Regions from separate parts of the Homo sapiens genome. Here region 2 is linked to region 1. Evidence: promoter capture Hi-C in 16 types of primary human blood cells and fetal thymus (Javierre and others, 2016). All regions are on one chromosome and are shown on one strand. The core of a region is centred on a gene start or on the middle of the fragment in contact, and the rest is flanking DNA. Distances in the headings are between cores, read along the strand shown.

Region 1 (4,613 bases), core at 1,850-4,349:
GGAATCCTTTCTAATGAAGGCTGTTCTTAAAGCTCCTTCTACAGATGCCTATTTAGCTTTATCCCTCTTAAAATGGACTCAATCATTAACCACACACTTCCATCGACGCCATGGGGAAAAGAGTGGAGCCCAGAAGACTGAGGACTAAGTTCCCAGCAAGTCTTCTTAAAAAGAGTGCCTTGACCAGGTGCAGCGGCTCACCCCTGTAATCCCAGCACTTTAAAAGGCCAAGGTAAGCAGATCACCTGAGGTCAGGAGTTTGACCCAGCCTGACCAATGTGGAGAAACCCCATCTTTACTAAAAATACAAAATCAGCTGGGCTTGGTGGTACATGCCTGTGATCTCAGCTACTTGGGAGGCCGAGGCAGCAGAATCACTTGAATCCAGGAGGCGGATGTTGCAGTGAGCCATGATTGTGCCATTGCATTCCAGCCTGGGAAACAAGACTGAAACTCCGTCTCAAAAAAAAAAAAAAAAAAAAAAAAAGAGAGAGAGTGCCTTGCTCATCCACTTAACAATAGAGGGAACAGGGGCCCAACCTGGGAGGTCAGACACTAGGGGGCAGTAGCAGAGATAAGACTTGGAAGCAGAAACTGACACGGAAAGTTTGCAAATCCAGCTCTGCAAACAACACAGAGTCCATGTTCTCTCCGAAAATGCCAAGACAAGGAAGACAAATTTCTGCTACTCAGTGTTCAGAGTTCTAAGTCCCAAGAAAAGGCTACGTAATCTATCAAGTTAGTTACCAAGTGCCTATTATGTGGATGTGGACCCTCAGGGCTGCATTATTTTCTCTTAGATGCCCTATGTTTATTCCTGCCCAACAAAACTTTTGGCATCTTAATCACCTCGCTTCTGTCTGCTTCTTCACACTGGCTCCCTTTCTGTCTCAGAAGACCCAAGACTTTCTTATGGCTTCAACCCCTCTCTCCCATTGTTACCACACCACCAATGTGGAAACTGCCTAGTCCGCCTCTTGTCAGATGCTTGCCTCCTTTGCCTCTGGGCATACTGTCCTCATCCTGCCAGGTCTTCAAGGTTGAGTTCAAGAGACTCCTGCATTTCTCACGCAATTTCTTGCCTGTGTTGCATGGACCCCAGTAGCCGTTACTGTTAAAACCGTATCTTGGGCTCAATGTAAACAGCAGCTACTCCACCCTCTGAAACAAAGGGTAACTTCAAATTAAATACATTTTATTATTAATGGGGACTCAGTGCACTGTCACTGAACCCTTTCTTATCTGGAATTTAGCACATTCATTAATCCCCTCAGGTCTGGGTTCAGGAAGTGCCCTCTAAAGTGGAGAGCTCAAACAGCAAAAGAGACCACCAGGACTTGACATCCTGGTGTTTTGTTGTTGCTGTTGGCATTTTTAATCCTTGAGAGCACAAGCCTCAAGAAATGGGTTCATGATATAACACAATTTGAATAAATCACAACACAGCAGCCTAACAGCTCTTTTGAAAATATGAGGGGCGCCATGGCTAATGCTTATAATCCCAGCACTGTGGGAGTGGCCACCAGCGGGTGGATCAGAAGGTCAGGAAATTGAGAACATCTTGGCCAACAGGGTGAAACTTGGTATCTACTAAAAATACAAAATTTAGATCGGCGTGGTGACTAAAAGATCCCAGCTACTGGGGAGGCTGAGGCATGAGAATCGCTTGAACCCGGAGGCAGAGGTTGCAGTGAGCTAAGATCATGCCACAGCACTCCAGCCTGGTGACAAGCCAAGACTCAGTTTCAAAAAAAAAAAAAAAAAAAACCCCAAACATGTCCAATAGTTCACTCACTTATGTCTTTCTGTTCTTCTGTAAGAGGCTTCTTTATTTCACACTCTTTAAAACTGCAGTGCTCAAAACCCCATTGATCCTTCCAACAGCCCTACTTTTTTCTCCCCCCAGCCTTCAGCACCTGTGAACATACTGTAACTTCCCTCTCCTCCCAGCAGGATGTAAGCTTCAACAAGAAAGAGGGATAGATTTTGTTGTCCAACCATTTTGTACCCGGACATATCCTTAAGGGTGGGCCCACATAACAACACCTGGCATGTATTAGGCTCTCAATAGTTACTAAAAGATGGCAAGCCCAGGTTCTCAGCGACATTATGGACCACAATAGTGCTCAAAGTTGAGGTCAGAGAGCTGTTCGACCCGCTGTTTCCAAACAGGATGTCCTAACTTTTTTCTCAGGGACCTTTTCATTACAGTGCAAGGACAAGTTCCGTGTGCAGCAAGTCTTCACCAACGAAAATCTCACATAAATAAGCAAACAGTGTTCCCACGAAATAGCAAGCCACAGGTACACAGCATGCACTTTTGAGTAAAAAGCAAATACAGTTATACTCACAAATACACCAGTTAGTTTATCCAGCATCCAATGCTTCGGCGCTGCAACACGCTTCAAGTGCTTCTTGGGGCCCCGGGCCTGAAAAAGACACCAAACTTTTTCAGAGAAACTCGTCTCAGTTAACAGTAAAATGTCTTTATCTTCAGCTGTAACAACTGCTAACGGGTAATACCGGATCGGAGGAGAAAGGACAGTCCAGGCTATTTCACGCCCAGTTTTGAGCAAATATTACTTCCTGCCAGACTCCAGAACAAACCCCGCAAAACTCCCAGACCTTTGACAACCTCACGAGTCTCTCTGGCGTCTGTCAAGACAGCGTCCACAGTGCTCTCCAAGCGAATCTGAGACTGCTTCAACGTATGGATATAAGCTAACCCGCGTAAAAAGCCAGTGCTGGGCTGCGGAGTCAAGGGTGGACTTGTAAGGTTAGCCGAGGAAGCTTATTCCTAACAAGACTCACGTGCCAACAGCACCACCGGCGCCCAGGCCGAGCACAAGGGCCAGCCCGGAACCCCCAGCCGCACTCTTCTCAGACCTCCGCTCTCCAAATCGGGTTTCCTGAAGCAGCACCAGCAGCATTCCCACCCGCCAAGCAGCGGTACCCGAAAAGTAAAAGCTTGCCAAGATGGAAGGCCCTTCTTCAAAGGATGGAGGCAGATAAATCCGGAGCTAGGACGCAGACGTCTTACCATGGCGAAATCCCGCGACGGAACAGAACCTCTCCTTTTACGGTGCAACCGTAATCTGCGGTGATAAACAGCGGGAAGTCAAATGAGTGAGAATTTCAGTTCCAGATTCCGCCTCGGGTAACCAACCTATTATTCTTCCGTTGTAGAGGTCACAGCTCGGAACTGAGTTTCTTAGCATATTCAGTTTCTGATACTGATTCATAGGTGTCAGTTATGCCACGGGACTTTTTGTTGTGCTTCCTCCCCTCAGGTCGGCTAAGCTGGGAGGACGCAGTTTACACTCTAAAAATTATCTTTCGCCAACTTTAAAAATATTTAACAGAAGCTCTGAAGGAGCAGGATTTAGCCGCCTTAAAAAAAAAAAAGCCAATCGTTAAGAAATAACCTGTATGATTCCTTGTGACTGTGACATGTTGTATTGTAAAATCATGATTTAAGAAACAATTCGTTTTTCTGAATTAGGGCCAATTTCACAGGTTTGAGAATGTATTAAAATCGTCTGTATTGTCAACTTTGAAAGGGTAGGTTTTATGGGACGTGAATTGTAAGTTCAATACCTTGTTTTGCATTAACTTGAGGTGATGGTTGCACAACTCTGTGCATGTCCCTAAAACCTCCAAAACAATTCACTTTTAAAAAGGTGAACTCGGCTATGTAAGTTGTACCACGCTCGCATGTGTGTGATGTCACAGCTTTATTGAGGTGGAATTGCTATACAAAACACAACCAGCCAAATGGACTTCCTTAATCTGTACCGTTTGACGAGTTCGGACATAGGCGTAAACCCACGGAACCATCATCACAATCGAGGTAATAAACATCTCCATCACCATCAAAAATTTCCTTGTGTTATTTTCTAGGTATTTCTTTTCTTTTTCTTTTTCTTTTCCTTTTCTTTCTTTCTTTTATTGTGTTTTTGAATGTGGCAGGGTCTGGCTCTGTCGCACCGGGTGGAGGGCAGGGGCGCCATCTCAGGTCCCGGCAGCCTCGACTTTCCGGGGGTTGAGTGTTCCTCCCACCTCAGCCTCCCACAGTGCTGAGACCCACAGGCACCTGCCAGCACTTTACGGAATTTTTATTTTTATTTATTTATTTATTTATTTATTGAGACGGAGTCTGGCACTGTCGCCGGGGCTGGAATGCAATGGCGCGATCTCGGCTCACTGCAACCTACACCTCCTGGCTTAAAGCCATTCTCCTGCCTCAGCCTCCTGAGTCGCTGGGATTACAGGCGCCCGCCACCAGGCCTGGCTGTTTTTTTGTACTTTTAGTATAGACAGGGTTTCACTGTGTTGGCCAAGCTTGTGTCAGACTCCTGACTTCATGAACCACCGACTCTGCCTCCCAAAGTGCTGGGATTACAGGCATGAGCCACCAAGCCTGGCCTCCAGCTTTTCTTTTCTTTTTCCTTTAACTGTAGAGAGAACACAACACAGTAACATCGACCATTTTTACCAATTTGTAAGCGCGTAACAGTGCCTAAAATGTTTTTGTTGTTATGTTTTGTTTGTCTTTGCATTCAATTCCTTGATTCAAGTCTATAGGCACTGTATGTGCCAGCTAGCAAGACAGC
Region 2 (4,955 bases), core at 678-3,177, 510 kb before region 1:
GTTAAGAACCTTTGTGGCCACACTCATAATGAATATGTTTTGTTGTTTTGGATTTGTGCATGTCTTGTGTGTATGAGTGTGTCTTTTTCTGGTATTAGTATGATGATAATATTCACTTCATAGAATGAGCTGAGAATAAGTATCTTCTCTTCAAATTTTGAAATAGATTCTGAAAAATTGGCATTAGTTCTTTGTATGGCTACTGAAATTTGTCTGTAAATTTGTATGTTTTTGTACTTCCCTTTGGGTTTTAAAAAAAATAGTTATTCAACCTTGCTACTCATTCTTGATATGTTTTGGTTTTCTCCTTTTTCTAGTTACAATTTTAGAAGGCTTCATGTTTCCAGAAACTTAACCATTTTCTCTAGGTTTTTTAGTTTCTGAATTCACAGATGTCCATAGCAGTCTCTTAATACACTTTTCTATTTCTGTGACACTTGTTGTAATGTTTTCTTTTTCATTTTCAACTTGTTTACTTGCATCTTTTATCTTCTGTTTTCTCTGTTATTCTAGTTGATGGTTTATTAGTTGTATTTGTCTTTTCAAATAAACAACTTTTCATTTTGTTAATTTTTGGTATTGTGTTTTTGCTTTCTATTATTAGTTTTTCTCTGATCTTTGCTATGTCTTTTATTCTGCTAACACTGAGTTTGTTTTTTTTGTTTTTATTTATTTATTTATTTTTAGTTTTTTGAGGTGCAATAATAGGCTGTTAATTTTTTATTGTTTTTGTTTCTTAATGTAGGCACTGAGTAGTGTAAGCTTCTTTATTAATACTATTTGGAGTTTATCAGAGACTGGTATGTTGTGTTTTCTTTTCAATTTATTTCAGCTAAAATCATTTTATTGTCATTGTTGATTCAGTGATCATTCAAGTGCATGTTGTTTACTTTTCATGTATTTGTACAGTTTTCAAAGTTCTTGGTATTAATTTTTGGCTTATTACACTGTGGTCAAAGCAGACATTAATATGATCTTGAATTATTAAAATTTATTAAGACTTGTTTTGTGGCCTAACATATAATCTCTCTTAATCAAATGGCATGTACTAATAAGAATTTACATTTTGCAGAAGTTTTTTGATATAATTTCTGTATACATCTGTTAGGTCTCTTTTGTGAAATGTTTAATTTAACAAGTTCAGGCTTTCTTTTTGGGTTTCTGTCTCACTGGTCTATCTAATCCTCTAAGTGGTGTGCTAAACTTTCCCATAGTATTGCATTGTTATCTCTTTATTTAGTAATATCTGTTTCATAAATCTAGAAGCAATAGTGTTTGATGTGTACTTAGTTGTTTTATTCACCTTCTGAATCAATTTCTTATCATTATATATGGACATTTTAATATTTTTTACTCTTTTAAGTTCAAAGAATTTTCTCTCATGTAAGTATGGCCACTTCTGCTTACTTTTGTTTTATAGGTTTTTTGGATTACTTTTAAGTTCAAAGAATTTTCTCTCATTTAAGTGTGGCCACTTCTGCTAACTTTTGTTTTATAGGTTTTTTGGATTATCTTTCTCTGTTTGTATACATTTAGTTTATATTTGTCTTTAGAGGGAAGCTGAATTTCTTGTAGGCAGTGAACATTTTTTATTCACTTTTTCAAATATATATGTGTGTGTGTATGTGTGTGTGTATATATATTTTTTTTTTGAAGAAGGGTCTGGCACTGTTGCCCAATCAGGAGTGTTGTTGTGTGATATTTATTTAGTCATTACAACCTGTGTCTCAGGAGCTCAAGCCATCCTTCCACCTCGGCCTATTTATTAGCTGGGACTACAAGAACATGCCATGATGCCCTGCTAATTTTTGCATTTTATTTGTAGAGATGGGTTTTCACCATGTTGTCCAGGCTCATCTAAAACTCCTTGACTAAAGTGATCCATCCACCTTGGCCTCCCTAACATGCCAGAAGTATAGGTGTGAGCTACTGTGCCTGACCAAATACAGTATTTTTTATTTTATTTATTTATTTTTGAGACTGTTTTTTCCAGCCCAGGCTGGAGTGCAGTGCCACGATCTCGGCTTACTGCAAGCTCTGCCTCCCAGGTTCACACCATTCTCCTGCCTCAACGTCCCGTGTAGCTGGGACTACAGGCGGCCGCCACCACACCCAGCTATTTTTTTTTTTTTGTACTTTTAGTAGAGACCGGGTTTCACCATGTTAGCCAGGATGGTCTCGATCTCCTGACCTCGTGATCCACCCACCTCAGCCTCTCAACCAAATAGAGCTATTAATTGGATTATAAATATTTAGCGATTATGCATTCAAGGTTAATATTGATATGTGAGGTTTTATCTTCATTATATGCTTAATTTTTTTTCTAGTTGATTTTTTTTATTCTCAATCTTTTTATTTGTGGTTCAGTGGAATGTTGTCATGTGGTGAAATCCTAGTTGTAGTATCAATTTGGCTGGTGGATGAGTTGGGTAAAACCCTTTTATTAGTTGGAGTGACCAGGCAAGAGTGCTACCAGTGACTTGAGAAGCTCTCCTTTTTCCCACATTCTGTACTCTTGTGTTAGCAATTTTTACAGTGGGCTTTGTGGGCTGGCCTCAAGTGCAATAAGTAATGATTGAAGACAAGAGCCAGCTGCTAATATGGTGGTAATGAAAGGAGACTGTTAGTTTGCCTTAGGTAGGTAACAAGGGAAGAGACTCTGGACAGTCCCCAACCCATGGGTCAGTTCCTCATCCCCATGCAAGAAACAAAGCAGGCTGGAAAAAAAATCAAGCTGCAGGCATCATAAGGAAACTATCACAGGCTGTTGTACCTGGAGACATGCCCATGGCTGCACAAATACGGTAAATCCCAGCCCATTCAGATAAAAATTTGTACAAACCTCTTGTTCACTCAGATAAGGAAATAAGACCTAACATAAGAATGCCATTATCCTTTGTATAATCTGTAGGTTCCCAGGAAGTTTTTTCTCATTTTGTGATCATAAACACAGTGGGCTCCAGTGGGTTTCAATGGATAGTTTGCTTTCTTGTGCAAAGTGTGAGCCCAGACTCTGTAAAGCATCACTTCAGCCCCTGGCCCAAGTTCTGGATTAAGATTGGCTCTGGTCCAAGGTCCTGGGTTAAGCTTTCACTTCAGCTTCTAAATAGATCCCTGGCCAAGCTAAACAGAGTCTATAAATCATCAGTTCAGCCTCTGATTTGTCCTGGGCCAAGGTCTTTGGCCAAGTTTTTAACTGGTCCCAGGCCAAGCTAAGTCAGCACTATCCAGGACAGCTTGCAGACTAAGCACATTCCTCCTTCCCCTTCCCAGTTCATAAAATTCCTAAACCTCAGCCTCATGTGGAGTAACTCATTCAAGAATCCCTCTCTTCTGGCAGAGAACTTTCTTATTTCACTTATTTAACTTTTGCTCCAACCTCACTATACTGTTCTGCACTCCTTAATTTTCTTGAGGGTAGAACAAAAAACTCCAGATGTCATCACAAACGAGAAACTGCTTCATCTTGTTACACTGGCAAAACTACAACAGTAAGATTTTGTCTATCAACTGTTCTCTGAGAAAAGTGCATGGATATTTCAGTGGGTGAATTCAGCTGTGGAATGACCAGTGGCCTGGATCCCACACTGTGTCTCAGAGAATGTGGTAAAGCTATCCATAGCTGGACTAGTAAATCCTGCAATCAGGCCTCAAAGGCAGGTGCAGGCACGAGCCCTGATGTTAAAAATGAAAGAGTCCTCATTGTTCTGTCAAAATGTCTGGGCAATAGGCAACTACTCCTAGGCTGAGCTCTCATCACAAACAAAAGCATGCATTTCCAGCACCAAAGTATTTGTTGGTGAAATGGAACCTGCTTTCTTCTCACCTCCCAGTCCCAGCAGACTTCATTCCCTCTAAGCCAACTGTGACAAGATTGTGGATATTTATTTAGTCACTGCAGTTTGCTGATGTACACCATCATAGCCTGGGTCATAGGAGACATTAGCTGGTAACTCATCAAACATCCTTAAGAGCTCTTCTTTTGCTCAACTCGTGGAATTGGAGGAAGGCCAGGTATAGTGCTAGAGGCTAGAACCCACTCCATATTTTTTATTAGTTCCGGCTGTGGGATCATATTTCCCACTTGAGTCCCATTGCATTATATACAGCTTAAGTTTTTCTGATGCCAAGAGGTGCTGCTGTTGCTAGCTCCCAAAACCAGCCACAATTTGCTAGGATCAAGAATGGCATCTTACCCAAGTCACTAAGTATGTTATGCTTTTCAGAGAAGTTTTTACTCACTGTCTCCCAGTGACTTCTCAAGTTAAATTCAGGGGCTGACGGAATCACGGTGCTGTCATATGGTCTGTACTTTAAGATCCAACTAAAAAGTAGGCTGCCAAAAGATACTCACCTATCTTCTATATAGAGTATTTATTCCCAGGTTTTGGCTGGTCCTGGCCACATAGGCTGCCTGACCTTCTAATCTCTCCCAGCATATGGAGTTTTCCTTTACTTTCTGTTCTACTCCTTGTTCCATCCCAGATAATATGTTCAAAGAGTGATTGTCTACATACTACTTTGCTTTTTTAACTAGATAAGGTGTCATGGAAATGTCTTCAGTCAGTCACAGGAGTAACAACTGACAATAAATTTTATTTTCCCAAGGCTAGCTTAACATGTACATTTGATTTCTATAATATTCTGGACCTTTTAATTTTCTTTCACTCTTATAAATAATGATTGTTTCTACATTGGGTCATTTTATGTTGTCCCAAATGACTCAAAGCCTGTGCTAAACATTTTTAATAGTTTTTCTTCATATTTTTCTGACTGGATTATTTTAGTAGATATGTCTTCAAGTTCTAAGATTATTTCTTCTGCTATATCTAGTCTATTATTAAAAGTTTCTAATGTATTTTGTATGCTCAGTAGATTTTTCTTTTTTTTCTTTCTTTTTTTTTTTTGAGATGGAGTCTTGCTGTACTGCCCAGGCTGGAGTGCAGTGGTGCAAT

What was found. Contacts are between HindIII fragments. The CHiCAGO score rates a contact against its expected background, and 5 or more counts as called.
Region 2: a contact is called between a fragment that was not itself captured here and the fragment with the promoter of RPS4Y2 in region 1, in 3 of 17 cell types (neutrophils, total B cells and naive B cells). The highest score is 10.2, in neutrophils.

The regions. Positions count from the first base shown.
Region 1 is chrY:20,754,594-20,759,206 of GRCh38, reverse strand. RPS4Y2 (ribosomal protein S4 Y-linked 2) reads right to left here and starts at 3,099. Exons shown (of 7, transcript NM_001039567.3): 1 at 3,041-3,099; 2 at 2,352-2,429. The coding sequence starts at 3,043. The HindIII fragment of the contact is 1,374 bases long and covers 2,970-4,343 here.
Region 2 is chrY:21,265,200-21,270,154 of GRCh38, reverse strand. All of the region lies in intron 2 of LOC107987347 (a long non-coding RNA gene), which reads left to right. Among named protein-coding and RNA genes, the nearest start is that of PRORY, 180 kb to the left of the region's middle. The HindIII fragment of the contact is 2,325 bases long and covers 765-3,089 here.